Linked DNA regions of Homo sapiens: all the other regions are linked to region 4. Evidence: promoter capture Hi-C in 16 types of primary human blood cells and fetal thymus (Javierre and others, 2016). All regions are on one chromosome and are shown on one strand. The core of a region is centred on a gene start or on the middle of the fragment in contact, and the rest is flanking DNA. Distances in the headings are between cores, read along the strand shown.

Region 1 (2,700 bases), core at 10-2,509, 310 kb after region 4:
CTGGGAGGAGCGGCGGCCGAGCGGCTTTAAGTGTATTCCCCTCCCCTCAAATCGCGTGGGGCGGGGGCCAGAAAGAAAAAGGAGCGAGCGACAGGCAGTGGGAGAGGGGGGGAGCGCCGAGCGGCCGGGCCGCGGCCGGCATTGTCTGCGGCCCGCGCCCCCTCCCCCGCCCCGCACAGCCCCGCCACACACACCCTCGCCGGAGGCCGGCCGTCCGCCCGCGCCTTTGTCCACATCCACCCCCGAAACCGGCGAACAGCCCTCCAGGATGTGCTCCCCGGAGGAGGGCGGGTAGGGGAGCGCGGGCCGGGGGCGCGGAGCCCACGGAGGGGCGCGTCCTGCTGATTCATTTCCCACTCGCGCTGGCCCGTCCGGGGCGACGGGGGGCAGGGAAGGGAGGGAGGAAATGGGCGCTCCGCTCAGGAGGACCGTCCGGGCCAGTGAGGACACCCGCAGGGGTGCGGGCGCGCGCGGAACTAGGGGCTGTCCGCAGGAGAAAGGCGGGCACCCCCCCCCCACCCAGGGACTGACGGACGGACAGACGGCTCGCGGCTGCCCCGTGACTCACCGACTTGCAGGACGTTGTCTACGCAGCCGCTTTCCAACAGCGCGATGCCCCGGCGGAAAGGCAGCCGCGTCTCGTCGCCGCCGTCCGCCGCCCCGGCAGCCCCCACCGACGGGGCCCCGGCCCCCGCGGCGGCGGCGGCGGCGGCGGCGGCGGCGGCAGCGGCGGCGGCGGCCGAGGTTGCGGCCGCCGAGGTTGCGGCCGGGGAAGACGAGGAGCCGCCGCCGCCGCCGCCGCCCGCGCCGCCGCCGCCACCGCTGTCGTCGCCGGGGCCGCCCGCGGCGCCGCCGCCGGTGTTGAAGGACGAGTACATGCAGATCTCCCGCTCGCTGCGGGGGAAGGACCAATAGACTATGCGGCGCTGCACCGGCTCCGGGATGCGCTCAAAGCGCTCCTCCACGCGCTGGAACGGCCACTTCTCCGCCACCCTGCGCGCCGCGATGTCCAGCAGCGACTCGGGGCTCTGGGTCTTGCCCGGCGGCAGCAACCCCAGCGCCGCGCCGCCCCCGCACGCCGCCGCCGCCGCCGCGCCACCCGCCCGCGGGCCTGGCCGACAGGCAGAGCTGTAGCCGCCACCCGCGCCGCCGCCGCCGCCGCTGCTGCCCCCGCCGCCGCCGCCGCCGCCCGGCCGGCAGCAAAGCCGTTTCGCGGGAGGAGGCTGCTGTCCGCGCTCCGCCATGACCGCGCCGCTTCTAACCCGACAGCGGAAGTGCCGGGACCCTATAAACGGCACTAGGAAGCGCGACACGCACACGCCGTCGCGACGCCACGATGCCATCTAGGGCCCGCCGCTCCTTGTATGGGCACAAGAGGTGGGGCCTCCGCTGTGACGCAGAAGCTGGGGCGGGGCTCTGATAGGGGGAACCTAGGGCCGGGGGCGGGGCCTATGCAAATCGCTGGGCTGAAACATAAATAGAGCGCTTGGCGGACACGGGGGTGGCGGGGGCGGGCCGTTTTGGTGCCCGGTGGGTTGTGAGAATGTCAGGCTGCTGTGACGCGGGGGAGGGCGGGGTCAGGCGGGGTTCCCGTGGGAGGGGGCGGGCCGCCGGGCCGGGCCTGAGGTGGGTGGGTCTCTGCGCCCCCTGCCTACCCCACTTCCCCCTCCAGTTCTCAGCTTCTCTTTGAAGTCCGAGAAGTGAGGATGCGCCTCGTGGGTCGCAGCGGGGGAGGAAAGGGGAGAAGAGGGGGTGAGCGAAGGGGAGGGTTCTGAGCTAAATGGAGGGCGGGGCCCACGGGCCGATGCCCCACCCCCCCCGTCCCCCTGCCCTTCGGGGGAAAAGCCTCTGGGCGGAGGAGGCGCTTTCAAAACAAAGAAATGCGGCATGGACCCCGGGGGACGCGGGTGGAGAGGAAGGCGGAGGAGGCGCGGCCAAACCCGAGCGCCTGCCAGCTTCCCCTCCAGCCGGTCCAGGGGAGCTCTCCCCACCACCCGCCGAAGCTGCAGCGGGGAAGGGGGAGGATGGCTGCGTTCGGCGGCGGCTTTCCACTTCACTTTTGCAGACCTGGTGTGGAAGGAGCGCGCCCGCTCTGCTAACCCCGCGTGGCTGCAGTGCGCCCATCCCCGAGCCCCGCGTCCGTTCTGTCTCGGCTGCAGGGCTGTGCCCGAAAACACGCAGAGCGCTCGGAACGTGCCCAGCAGCCGCGCGACCCGCGTCCGGTGCCGGCTGCCACCGTCCCGCCCTCGCTGCCTCAGCCCCTCGGGCCAGGAAACCGACCCGCCCGCTAGAAGTCGAGGAGCTCCGGCCGCCCTTGTCGCCCCCGCGGCCGCGCGGACAAGGCCCCGCTCCAGGCCGGGGTTTCTCCAGCTCGGGGTGGAACGCAGCCCGGGCTGTGGGGTTAGCAGACACACCTTTGTGAGTACACACGCCGCAGGGCGCGCGCAAGCCCCACGGGCTCGCGCACACATCGCCCAGCAGGCGGCAGACGGCGTGCCAGGCGGCGGACGGCGGCTTCGGGCGCACTTGGGTCTGCGGCCCGGCTCCCACCCCGGCACCCGGGTGCGCGGCGCCCGGCTGCGCGGAGTCCAGGCGCTCGGGACGCGCGCCGCGCTCTCAGTCGCCTTGGCGGCGCCCGCAGGGCCAGTCCCCTCGGGTCCGGGCAGTGTAGGGGTGGACCAGGGAGAGCGAGTGCAGAGT
Region 2 (2,700 bases), core at 98-2,597, 510 kb after region 4:
CAGCAGTGATGGAGACAGCAATATGAAGAAACAAATTGAGGTGAGAATTCTCAAAGGAGGTGGGGGAGGGAAGCAAAAAGATCACTGGGAAATAAGAACAAAGGAGACGGAGAATCAAGGGTAAAGAAGGAACCCACCAAAAGACCTAGGCTGAAGCCCTCTTTCTTTCACTTATTCATGTACACAATCACTCAATATTATTGAGCATGAACTCTGAGCCAGGTACTGTTCTAAATCCTCGAGAGATGGCAGGGACCAAAACACAGTCCTGCTTTCATGAAGCTTAGATTCTAGTAGGAAGAAACAAACTATAAATAGACAAATCACACAGCTAGTGAATGTAAGTAAATAGGTGACTGGCTGTGTTGCCATATACTTCTCATTTAATCCGCTTGCCATTTTGGTTTAGCAAAGAAACAAGAAACTTGAAATAGTGTGGGAGTACATATTTGCCAAGGGGAAAAGCAGAACTTTTAAAAGCTCCTTCAGAATGTTCTTTTCTCTTTCTTAAAATGGAAATCACTGTTCTTTTAGCTGCAAAAGTAATACATCTTGAAAAAAATACAGAAATGTAAACAACAGAAATCTACAAAATAGAAAATATCTCATAATTTCATATCCACTGTTAAAAAGTCTAATCATTATAGACTTCCCCCTGCATATACATGTGTTTATAATATAAATATAGTGTATCCCATTTACATGTTTATAATTATAGATAAAATATATACTACGAATACTATTCCATAAACTGCTTTTCACTCAATATTTTTCAGACATCTTTTTTGTGTCAATATATATAGGTGTACATTATCCTTCATAATGGCTGCATACTAGTTAGTATTCCATTGTAATTTATTCGTTCAATCCCCTATAGATGAATGTTTAGAATGGTTCATATTTTACAATACTACAAACAACATTCTTGTATAAAATTTGTATACATTTGCCATTCATTCTTTAGGATACCTTCTCAGAACTGGAATTGCTGCATTAAAAGTTTCTCATATATTTGGAAAATTGCTCTCTAAAGAGTTAACATCCATTTTGGGCAACAAAGTGAGACCCTGTCTCTACAACAAACATAAAAAACAAACCAAAAAACCCCCCAAAAAAACAACACAATTAGCTGGGCGTGGTGGCCTGTGCCAGGCTGAAGAGGATGAATTGCTTGAGCCTAGGAGTTTGAGGTTACTGTTAGCTATGATCTTTCCACTGCACTCCAGCCTGGGAAAGAAAGTGAGACCCTGCCTCAAAAAAAAAAAAAAGAAAAAAAAGTTAACATCAACTTACACCTGTATCTATGGTGAATGAGAATACCTGTTTCCCCACAACTTTGTCAATACAAAAAAGAGAAGTCTTTATTCTGTATTTTAAAACTTTTCCCCTCAGTCTTTGGCTTAACTTTGTCTAGGATTTTAACTATCAAAAAGTAGAAACTTCTTATGTTGTCAAATTTGTCAATCTTTTCATCATAGTATCTGGCTTTAGTGTCATGCTACTCTCTCGTGTATTCCTTTTTTATCCTTCAGTTTTCAGCCTAAAGAAGGTTGAACCTGTTTTCACATTTGTAATGTCCCATTTCTGGTACTGTTTCGTATTGTTATGTGTCTGTCTTTCTCACTGGAGCATAAACTCCCTTGGCCATCTGCAGATTCTCCTCTATATCTCCAACATCTAACACAGAATAGGCATTTATAAGTTATTTGTTGAATAAATTTTAGAGTCTTCCTTTTTGGGGCCTACTGCTAGTTTTCCCTGGAACAATGTTCCTTCTCAGAGATCAAATGAATATTAAGGGAATCAAACAAACCCTTCACTATAAGAAGTAATTTAGAGGGAGGGAAGGTAAATCTCATTGACTCCTTCTCCGAAAAAACACATCAAGTCAGGCATTGCTGAACCAGACTTGTCAGAAAATCTTGGACTGGGCTTGACTGAACACTGCAATATGGCAAGTGAGTCAGGCAAGTTATATAAGATCTCTGGGGAAATTCTTCCGGTTCAATAACCTGTAATGTTGCTTTCATGATAACCAAGAGTGCATCCAAATCCTGTTTCTCAAGAATTTTGATGGTTTCAAAATCTACTGTTCCCTTTTCAAAATGAATTACATGCCATACAACAAATTTAGGAAGAGTCTTGTGATGCCAGAGCACCCCAAAAGTTGGGAACTTGTACCCTGGGTTCTACTGATATCCTCTGGGATGGCAATTCATAACTCATTTCAAGGAAAGTGATATTTGTGTTACATATTTAAGTACAAGTTTCAGCAACAGTGATAGTCAATTCCTTGAAAAGTACCAGTTAAAGATACAAACTAAAAGTTTGTCTTACCATTTGCTAGGTAAAACCATTTTTTTAAAAGACATCAAGGTTGGTTCCTTTGCATTCTGGCAATAAAAAGCTTCGTGGTATTCAGATTAGATGAATGTTTTCTAGAATAATTCTTGAGAATGTTTCTTTTCTTTTATACTAAGTTATCTTTTAAGTGTGGCAGGAATTAGAACAGCTCTTATCTGGAAAATTTTCTCAAGGATACTTGTAATATTAGAATTAGAAAGTCTTTTTAACATGCCTAGGTTGAACAAAAAGCTGGGTTTTATTTGCATAGTGTATGATAATAGCATTTATTTTCTACTATTATTTTTTACTTATAAGTACTTTTCCTTTTTTATTATACTTTAAGTTCTAGGGTAC
Region 3 (2,700 bases), core at 60-2,559, 280 kb after region 4:
TGGGAGGCTGAGGCAGGAAGATCACTTGAACCCGAGTTCGGGGCTGCAGTGAGCTATGATTCTGACACTGCACTCCAGCTTGGACAACAGAGCAAGGCTCCATCTCTGCCGAAACACACACACAGACACACACACACAGTGTTTTGAAACTAAGGTTTAAGAATCACTACAGTGTTTAGATTTATGCTGGCAAAAAGTTAAAATCAAGTATGTAATCAAATCATAACTGAATTGTATACATAAACAGAAAGAACTTATTATGAGACCAAAGGGCCTAGAGACTAGCACTAATTAAAAAATAATGAAGCCACTATGTAATTTTAAATTTCCTAGTAGTCACATTTTAAAAATTAAAATAAACAGGCTAAATTAATTCTAATAATACTTTTAACACAAATATTATCATTTCAATAAATTGTTCATAATGTTTTACATTCTTTTTATTGCACTAAGTCTTCAAACTCTGGTGCATGTGTTACACTTTCAGTAATCTCAATTCCAGCCTGCCACATGGCTACCACATCAGACAGCAAAATTATAGATGAATTAAAATTTGCCAGTCTCTTTACTGAACAGATTGATATTTAGCATAATGGTAGCAATCTACTATCCTTTTCTACAAATTACTTGTAAATTATATTTTTTAAAAGTTTAAAGCTTTAAATGTATTGTTCTCTAACACTTAGTTACAAAACTAAGTTAACATTCTGGCTCCTGCCATCTAATAGTGTGTGTGTGTGTGTGTGTGTGTGTGTGTGTGTGTGTGTGTGTGTGTGTGTGTGTGTGTGTGTGTTTTAAAGTCTCTCAAGAGATTCGCACTGTAAACAGGTAAGCTACATCACTTAGCTACATCAATACCATCACTGCTATTTATTTTTCTAGTCTGAAAGCCGGGGGCATCTCAACTTGACTTTCTCTAGCCCAAAGGAACACCCAGGAGCCACTGTAGGCCTCCACTGGCACCCAGAATAAGGAATTCTCATCTCCTGGGCTTGAGAACAGAAAACTAAGTCACAACTACCAAGCTAAATACCCAAGCTGACGTATCTGGTCCTTTGACAAGGGAAACTGATATAACCCCATCACTAATTCAACAGCAGCAGTTACTCAGTGGGGCTAGTAGAATTGTGATAAACAAAAAATATCAGTCACATTTTTAATGTGATTAAAATAATACTTTAATACTGAATTAAAAACAGGACAAATCAGCTTGAGATACCTTTAATTACTCATGATCTGTAAAATGAGACCAGATTATAAAATTAAAAATCTAAATAGACTACAAAATAGCTCTTACTTTCAGTAGAAAGTAAAATAAAGTACAACATATATTGCCTTAATACAGTTGATGATCAAAATGCAGTCTAAGAATGGAATATATAATAAGTCACTGAATACAGAGGCAGACTATAAGTCATAAAATGGTGCTTTGAGAAACTCCCTCAACTGTCCTTAATATTCAAAATCCAGGGTATGATAATGGTTTACTCTAGAATCAAGTGATGTATGAATTTAAATTAGACCCTAAAGAAATGCAGGGGGATTGAAATGGAGCCTCTAATACCAAACAACTTATGAACCCCTCAAAAATAATGGACTGTTCCTTCGCTTACCAGAAAGTGAGTTTTCTTTTGCACATAAAACTCTTGCCATAAGCAAAAATGTACTTGTGTGTCTATGCAAGAGTAGTGTGATAATTACATACTTTTGGGGCTTAAATACATCTCGTGTCACGTCACACCTAAGGCATACAGTTATTTCATTTTGAACCATTCACTCCAGAGAGTAATTATTCATCCTATAACTTGGTCATAAAATGCAGAGCTTACTCAGTATTTCAGCAATTGTACAGCATAGGTGGATTTTTACATGGTACTTCTATAAATCAGATAACCAAAACATGTACCTTAATAAGTTAAAGTGCTAAAATTATGGTGAGTTATATAGACTTCCTAAGCTTTTAACTTGTGCCCAGTCTACACAGAAAGCTGCAAATGCTACAGGTAGATCCAACTATGGAATAAAGTTGAACACGCAGGCAGTTAATCTGAGCAGGGATAAGTACGATGGCAGCAGGAATGAGGTCACAAGAAGGCATGAAGACATTCAAAAGACCATTCCTGGATGCTGCCTGGAAAGATAACCTTTCCTCATCAGCAAACAGAAGAGTTTCCTAAAACAAAGCGGGGAAAGCACATTTTAAGGCTTGCTCTAAGAGTTAGGTCTTTAAGCTATAATTCGGTAGTAAGAGAATGTCTACAGCATCTGCTGAATCTATCTACAGGGCTGCCAACACAATCCACAAGAACTCGAAGTTGTGCCTTCCAGTAACTGAGGTGTGTGCACCTCTACTGCCTCACACAGCTTGTTATACTCATCTGTTTCTGAAGGATGTCCTACACACATTGCCCCAGTCTCCCACTAAAAATCGAGAAAATGGTAATTGTTTCAAGTCAAAGTATTTATGTCACTAAATGTTGTGACTGAAATTATTTGTAAATGTCCAACAAAGAAAAAGTCACCCTCAACTGAGTGTAGTATCAGCTCCAAGGAACAAGAAGGTACTATATCGTGAATGGGTTACACATCCATTACTACTTATCAAAGAGAAAAAAATAAAACATAATACATTCAGAAGTAGTGAAACACTGCTCAGAGGTCAGGCCACTATATTTGAATGGTATCACAGACCAAGGAGGA
Region 4 (2,700 bases), core at 123-2,622:
CGCCTGTAGTCCCAGCTACTCGGGAGGCTGAGGCAGGAGAATAGCGTGAACCCGGGAGGCGGAGCTTGCAGTGAGCAGAGATCGCGCCACTGCACTCCAGGCTGGGCGACAGAGCGAGACTCCGTCTCAAAAAAAAAAAAAAAAAAAAAAAGACTGTGTGTCCCACTTTATCTGAGGGGCCAATCTGCTCAAGACATTTTTGAGCTGCCAGTCCCGAACTGCGTGCTTAAGCCCCAAGAGCTAGCAGGTATCCGCAGAGCCCCTGCACAGGGCTGCTGGGAGTTTCCATTGGCCACGCCTTCTGACCTCAGTTCTGCACTCCCATGCTCATTAGCTCCCTGCATTCTTGGATGCTCTTGAATATTCCCCTGCTCACCCTTCTTCTCTTGCCTGGTACAACCTTGGTAGCCTGACCCCAGAACTGGGCTGCTTGCCCTGGGCACCAGTTGGCTTTGTTCCCAGGCATTACTGCTGGGATTCGCTCTGGACTCTGAAATATGCCTCCTCAGCCAGCCCGACTGCCCAGATCCCACCAGCCTGCTCTGTCCAGAGAGATGAGACATTCGGACTATTCAGTGTCCGTTCATGCCATCTGCTGGGATCATGATTTCTATACTCTGGTCACACATTACATGAATAATACTTCCCCCATTTCCTCAAAAAGATCCTCAGACAAGCTCAACCCCCATGTGCTAGTAGTTCAGGATTCTATGACCATCCTAAGTTTACACAACCACTTGGCCTTGGCTGGCCAAGACATGATGGTGTGGGAGCCTAGGAAGACCCTTCAGAGACGGCAGCAACCAGACTCCTCTTCTCACAGTCCCCCTCCAGCTCTGGTCTGTCCTCCTCACACAACCTCCCCCTCACAGTTTTGGGGTCTCATCTTTGGACCCTCTCTTGCCCCATTTTCCAAACACATCATCCCTGGCTGTATTAGGGGTCTCTGGGGCAGCCGCACTATGCTTTGATAGAGGGATGAGGTAAAGTTATTTTCCACTTTATTAACCTGAAAAAGCATAAACCGACCAAGTTTAGGGGCCTGAAGCATATTCTAAACAGACAGTGTCTCCTCCCTGACCCAGTTCTCTTACGGAATCATGGGAACCCATCTCCTCGACTTAGCAGCGGCAGACAGGCTGGTGTTTCTTGGCATTGTTTTCTAGGGCTGAAGCTGCAGTTTTCCTGATTTGGCCCTTGCATATTATTTAATTGTTTATCTTGACATACAGGTTTATCCCAGAAGGGGATGTTTAAAAAGTGGCATGGAGACCCTGGCTATAGACAGAAATGCAGCTTAACTTACCTTGGCTTCCTTCCTGCCAGACTCCTCCCAATTATTCTGCAGGCTTCTTTGCCCTGAGGGCAGTTTGCAGCTCCAGGGACTGGAATTGGCTTAAAAAAAAAATTCCTTCCTCTCTGTGCCCCATGTGAGGGAGCATTGTGTTCTCTCTAAATAATCAGCCTGGCTTTGTGTGACCTAACTGGACAGGGCCCTTTGAGAGATTTTTCAGTTGCAGAAAGAGCAGTCAGTGGCATCCTACAAAATCAGAAAGTTTTCAGACCAAGGAGAGAAGTCAGTGACAGCAAGATATTTTTTTCTTTAAGTTGTATTGTGACTAATTCCTCTCTCCCACTGGTGTTTAGAGTAATTAGGTAAAAGTGCAACAGAAGAATCCAAATTTATATTTTAGATCTAATAAATAATAACATTTAATCAGATGATCCCCATCCATTAACACCAAAATAACAAACAATTCAATGAATTATTTTAGGGTACTTACTATGTGCAAGGCATTGTCAAGGTAATTATTTCTTGCATTTACTGATTTCCTCCTGGGGACGCAGCACTAGCAAGAAGCTAATGGATTAGAAAGAAGTAGAAGGCCTCCAGCTGACAACCCACTCAGAAGAGAACATGGATCAGAATTGCCTGCCTCCATGGCAGGCACAGAGCTGGGAATTCATAAGCAGAAATTACTTCATTCAATCATCTCAATAGCCCTGTGGGGAAGACAGTAGTTCTCCATTTTACAGATGTGGAAACTGAGATCCAAAGACTATGTATATAGCAGGCAGAATGATGCCTCCCCTCCTTCAAAAATTCTGAAGGCTGTGAATAGGTTACCTCAAATGGCAAAAGGGGCTTTGAAGAGGTGATGAAAGGTTTTGCAGTGGGGATGTTACTATCGACTTTCTGAGTGGGCCCAGTGTAATTGCCATGGTCTTTAATAAGGGGGTAGATAGGAAGATAAGAGTGAGAATGACAGGGATGTGACAATGGAAACAGAAATTGGAGTGATGTCGGGTCATGAGTCAAGGAATGCATGCACCCTCTAGAAGCTGGAAAAGGCAAGAAAACAGATTCCTCCCCCTCCACCCCAAGCCTCCTGAAGACGCCCTGCCCTGATAACCCACTGTGAACTTCTGGCCTCCAAAACTGTAAGATATCTTGGTCCATTTTCTGCTGCTGTAACAGAATACCACAGGCTAGGTAACTTATAAATAACAGAAGTTTATTTGTCTTATGGATCTGGAGGCTGGGAAGTGCAAGATCAAGGGGCTGCATCTGGTGAGGGCCTTCTTGCTGTGTCATAACATGCAGAAGGCATTACCTGACAAGAGAGCATGCGAGAGAGAGAGAGGAAGGGAACCAGAACTTCATTCTTCTATGTGGAGCCCACTCCTTTGATAACTAAC
Region 5 (2,700 bases), core at 30-2,529, 410 kb after region 4:
CACAGATAACCATGAGCAAAGCTGGGAAGATAGGCCAGGATCACGGCCCATCTGCAGGAAGGGGAATGGGAAGTTGGCAGAGAACAGGATCAAGGAGGACAAGCATCTCGGATGGTCTCACTGCCAGTAAGAAAGCTGCTGGTTCTTGCATACTTGCATACTTCCTGCTGGGACAAAAAGCAAGCTCAAATCAGCCCAAGGCTTCTGGGTCTGTCCTAAGGATAGGATGGGAAGGTAACACTGTGCCTCTGTAACAGTTAGATGAGAGGGCCCCTCTAGGCAGATGCAGCCCTGGCTTGGCAAGCAGAAGTGTCTAGGAGAAGAAAAGAGCCCCATCGTCCAGGCAGATGGAGGAAGCACCCCACCTGCAAGCTTGGTGAGCAGAGTGCAATCTGGATTCAGTGCCCCCTATACCGCAGCCAGAGCTTCCGTGCAACCACATGCGTAACCACATGTGATGACCCTGCTGTGAAGCGGGGGAGGAGGGTCGATTCTGGTCCTGAAATACTTGCACACACTGGCCAGATCTTAGTGTTTTGACCGTAAGTCAGGACAATTTTGAGCTTCTCTTCTCTGAGTTCTCCGGCACCTTCTCAGACACAGGGGTTGTAAATGAGTCATCACCAGGGGTGTATGATGCATTAACACTGGACTGATTTCAAACACAGAGGCAAGTGGGTGAGCCCAGAGGGCCTGGTGCATCTGCATTGTGGTGCCACCACAGCCTGCCTGGGCAGTGGCTGGCTTATGCAGAGGGCAAGCTGGGAAAAGCTACCAAAAGGCACTGCTGCCAAAAATGCCGTTCCAGTTGGATGGCAAGCCATGTTCCACGACTCCGCGGCTGGAGAACAAAAACTCCTGCTGTGCTTCTTTTAAGATCAGGAAAATACCACCTTCCTATGGGGTTACTTCTGAAGATTTCATTAAAAGGCAACGGTGGTCACAGCCTTGCGAACTTAGCTCCCTTCCCCAGGGGCGATCATTGTACCTGACCACCGTGCTTTTGTTTTGCCACTCAGAGTAGCCCTTAAACTGCCTCTACTTCCTAATTTGTCATCCACCCATTTCCTTATCTTTTGATAGCAGCTCTCCCAGGGAGCGTGTTGGTTCTGGCAAGAGGCTCTTGACCTGGTTTCTGTTTCAGTTAGGTCTATTTCCATAGGTCTGACCAGTTAGGTCTCTCTCATGCTATGCTTCTGTTCAATATTTCTTGAATGCTTGGCATGTGCCAGGCACTGTGGTAGGGGAATGCAGAGACGACTGACATGGTTTCTCCCCTTAAGGAGTTTGCACTATGGTAGAAGACACAGAAACAAACCAGCAGTAGTGGGCAGTGGCTGCGTGCAGGCATATCCAGCATCTATTCCCTCCTTCCTCTTCCTAACAGAATCATAACACTGTTCTGGAATCTTCTCTCTCCTCAAGAATCACCTCTCTTTCTCTTTCTCTCTCTCTCTCTCACACACACACACACACACACACACACACACACACACACACAGCGCCTGCGTTGGAGGTGAGGTCCAGTAACTATTTGGTGGATAAAGCCAGAAGCAGGATGAGTCAGAGGTGGCATTTAAGAGGAAGGGAGCTGGGGCCGCACTGAAAGCCCACACTGGCACTGGATGGACGGTGTTACTGGATCCACTGTGGAGTTGAACTGTATGGTGTGAGCAACACGGGCCAGCAGGACTGAAGAGAAAGCCAGTGTGCAGCTGTGCTTCGTTCATTTTCACTGCCCCAAACTATATAGTATGAATATACTATAATTTATTTATTCATATTCATGAGTTCATTTACTCATTCAGTCAATGGACATCTGAGTTCTTTCTAGCTTCTCAAAATTGTGTTTCTTTGAGAAGGGTTGTTTGATTTTGTTATTATGATAAACAGTGCTGCTGTAAACATTCCAAAACAGGTCTCCTGGTACACATGGTGAAGTTCATATTTAGGGGTTAATACCAAATTGTCTTCTCCATGATGGCACAATTGGCATTTCCAACAGCAGGCATTAGGGTTTCCATTTGTTCCATATCCTCACTCACACTTTGTCTTATGACACTTATGATATTTTTTAAATCTAGCGATTTACATTGCAAATTTGAACTTGAATTGTTCTGATATTAATGAGATTAAACATATTGTGAACATTGGTCATTTGTGTTTCTGCTTCTGTGAAAGCTTATTCAAGGCTTTTGCCCATTTCATCCAGAGAAGACTGATTTTGGCTTGGACCAGTGTAGTGGCAATGGGGTGGTGAGAAGTGGCCAGTGAAAAGAAGCACTGTGTTGTTATAAAGGAATACCTGAGGCTGGGTAATTTATAAAGGAAAAAAAGGTCTATTTGGCTCATGATTCTGATGGCTGGGAAATTCAAGATTGGGCATCTGCATCTGGTGGGGGCCTCAGGCTGCTTCCGATCAAGGCAGAAGGCCAAGAGGAGCCAGCCTGTGCAGGGACCACAGGGTGAGAGAGGAGGCAGGAGAGAGCTGGGAGGTGCCAGGCTCTTTAGCAACCAGCTCTGTGGGAAGTAATGGAGTAAGAAGTCTATCAGTCTCTATCAAGGCATTAAATCTATTAGGGCATTAATCTATTCAGGAGGGATCCACCCCCATGACCCACACGCCTCCCATTAGGCCACACTTCTAACACTGGGGATCAAATTTCAACATGAGGTTTGGAAGAGAAAAACATCTCCAAA

What was found. Contacts are between HindIII fragments. The CHiCAGO score rates a contact against its expected background, and 5 or more counts as called.
Region 1: the fragment with the promoter of ZSWIM6 here is called in contact with the fragment with the promoter of LINC03122 in region 4 in 15 of 17 cell types (activated CD4 T cells, total CD4 T cells, non-activated CD4 T cells and 12 more); the score reaches 17.0 in activated CD4 T cells.
Region 2: a fragment that was not itself captured here is called in contact with the fragment with the promoter of LINC03122 in region 4 in 4 of 17 cell types (naive B cells, naive CD4 T cells, total B cells and 1 more); the score reaches 7.5 in naive B cells.
Region 3: a fragment that was not itself captured here is called in contact with the fragment with the promoter of LINC03122 in region 4 in 1 of 17 cell types (megakaryocytes); the score reaches 5.2 in megakaryocytes.
Region 5: a fragment that was not itself captured here is called in contact with the fragment with the promoter of LINC03122 in region 4 in 1 of 17 cell types (activated CD4 T cells); the score reaches 5.0 in activated CD4 T cells.

The regions. Positions count from the first base shown.
Region 1 is chr5:61,330,817-61,333,516 of GRCh38, reverse strand. ZSWIM6 (zinc finger SWIM-type containing 6) reads right to left here and starts at 1,259. Exons shown (of 14, transcript NM_020928.2): 1 at 569-1,259. The coding sequence starts at 1,244. It overlaps LOC105378994 (a long non-coding RNA gene), which reads left to right and starts at 1,301. Exons shown (of 2, transcript XR_007058781.1): 1 at 1,301-1,377. RefSeq lists silencers at 365-474, 1,255-1,394, 1,505-1,904, 2,115-2,184, 2,215-2,700 and 1 more and an enhancer at 2,599-2,700. The HindIII fragment of the contact is 10,173 bases long and covers 1-2,700 here.
Region 2 is chr5:61,129,768-61,132,467 of GRCh38, reverse strand. All of the region lies in intron 3 of NDUFAF2 (NADH:ubiquinone oxidoreductase complex assembly factor 2), which reads right to left. Among named protein-coding and RNA genes, the nearest start is that of SMIM15-AS1, 31 kb to the left of the region's middle. The HindIII fragment of the contact is 2,125 bases long and covers 285-2,409 here.
Region 3 is chr5:61,353,525-61,356,224 of GRCh38, reverse strand. The region is part of intron 1 of ZSWIM6 (zinc finger SWIM-type containing 6); the gene reads right to left. Among named protein-coding and RNA genes, the nearest start is that of ZSWIM6, 23 kb to the right of the region's middle. The HindIII fragment of the contact is 1,300 bases long and covers 660-1,959 here.
Region 4 is chr5:61,636,453-61,639,152 of GRCh38, reverse strand. LINC03122 (long intergenic non-protein coding RNA 3122) reads right to left here and starts at 1,372. Exons shown (of 2, transcript NR_126525.1): 1 at 1,307-1,372. The HindIII fragment of the contact is 4,932 bases long and covers 1-2,700 here.
Region 5 is chr5:61,226,835-61,229,534 of GRCh38, reverse strand. All of the region lies in intron 3 of SMIM15-AS1 (SMIM15 antisense RNA 1), which reads right to left. Among named protein-coding and RNA genes, the nearest start is that of LINC02057, 37 kb to the left of the region's middle. RefSeq lists a silencer at 1,627-1,827. The HindIII fragment of the contact is 1,809 bases long and covers 375-2,183 here.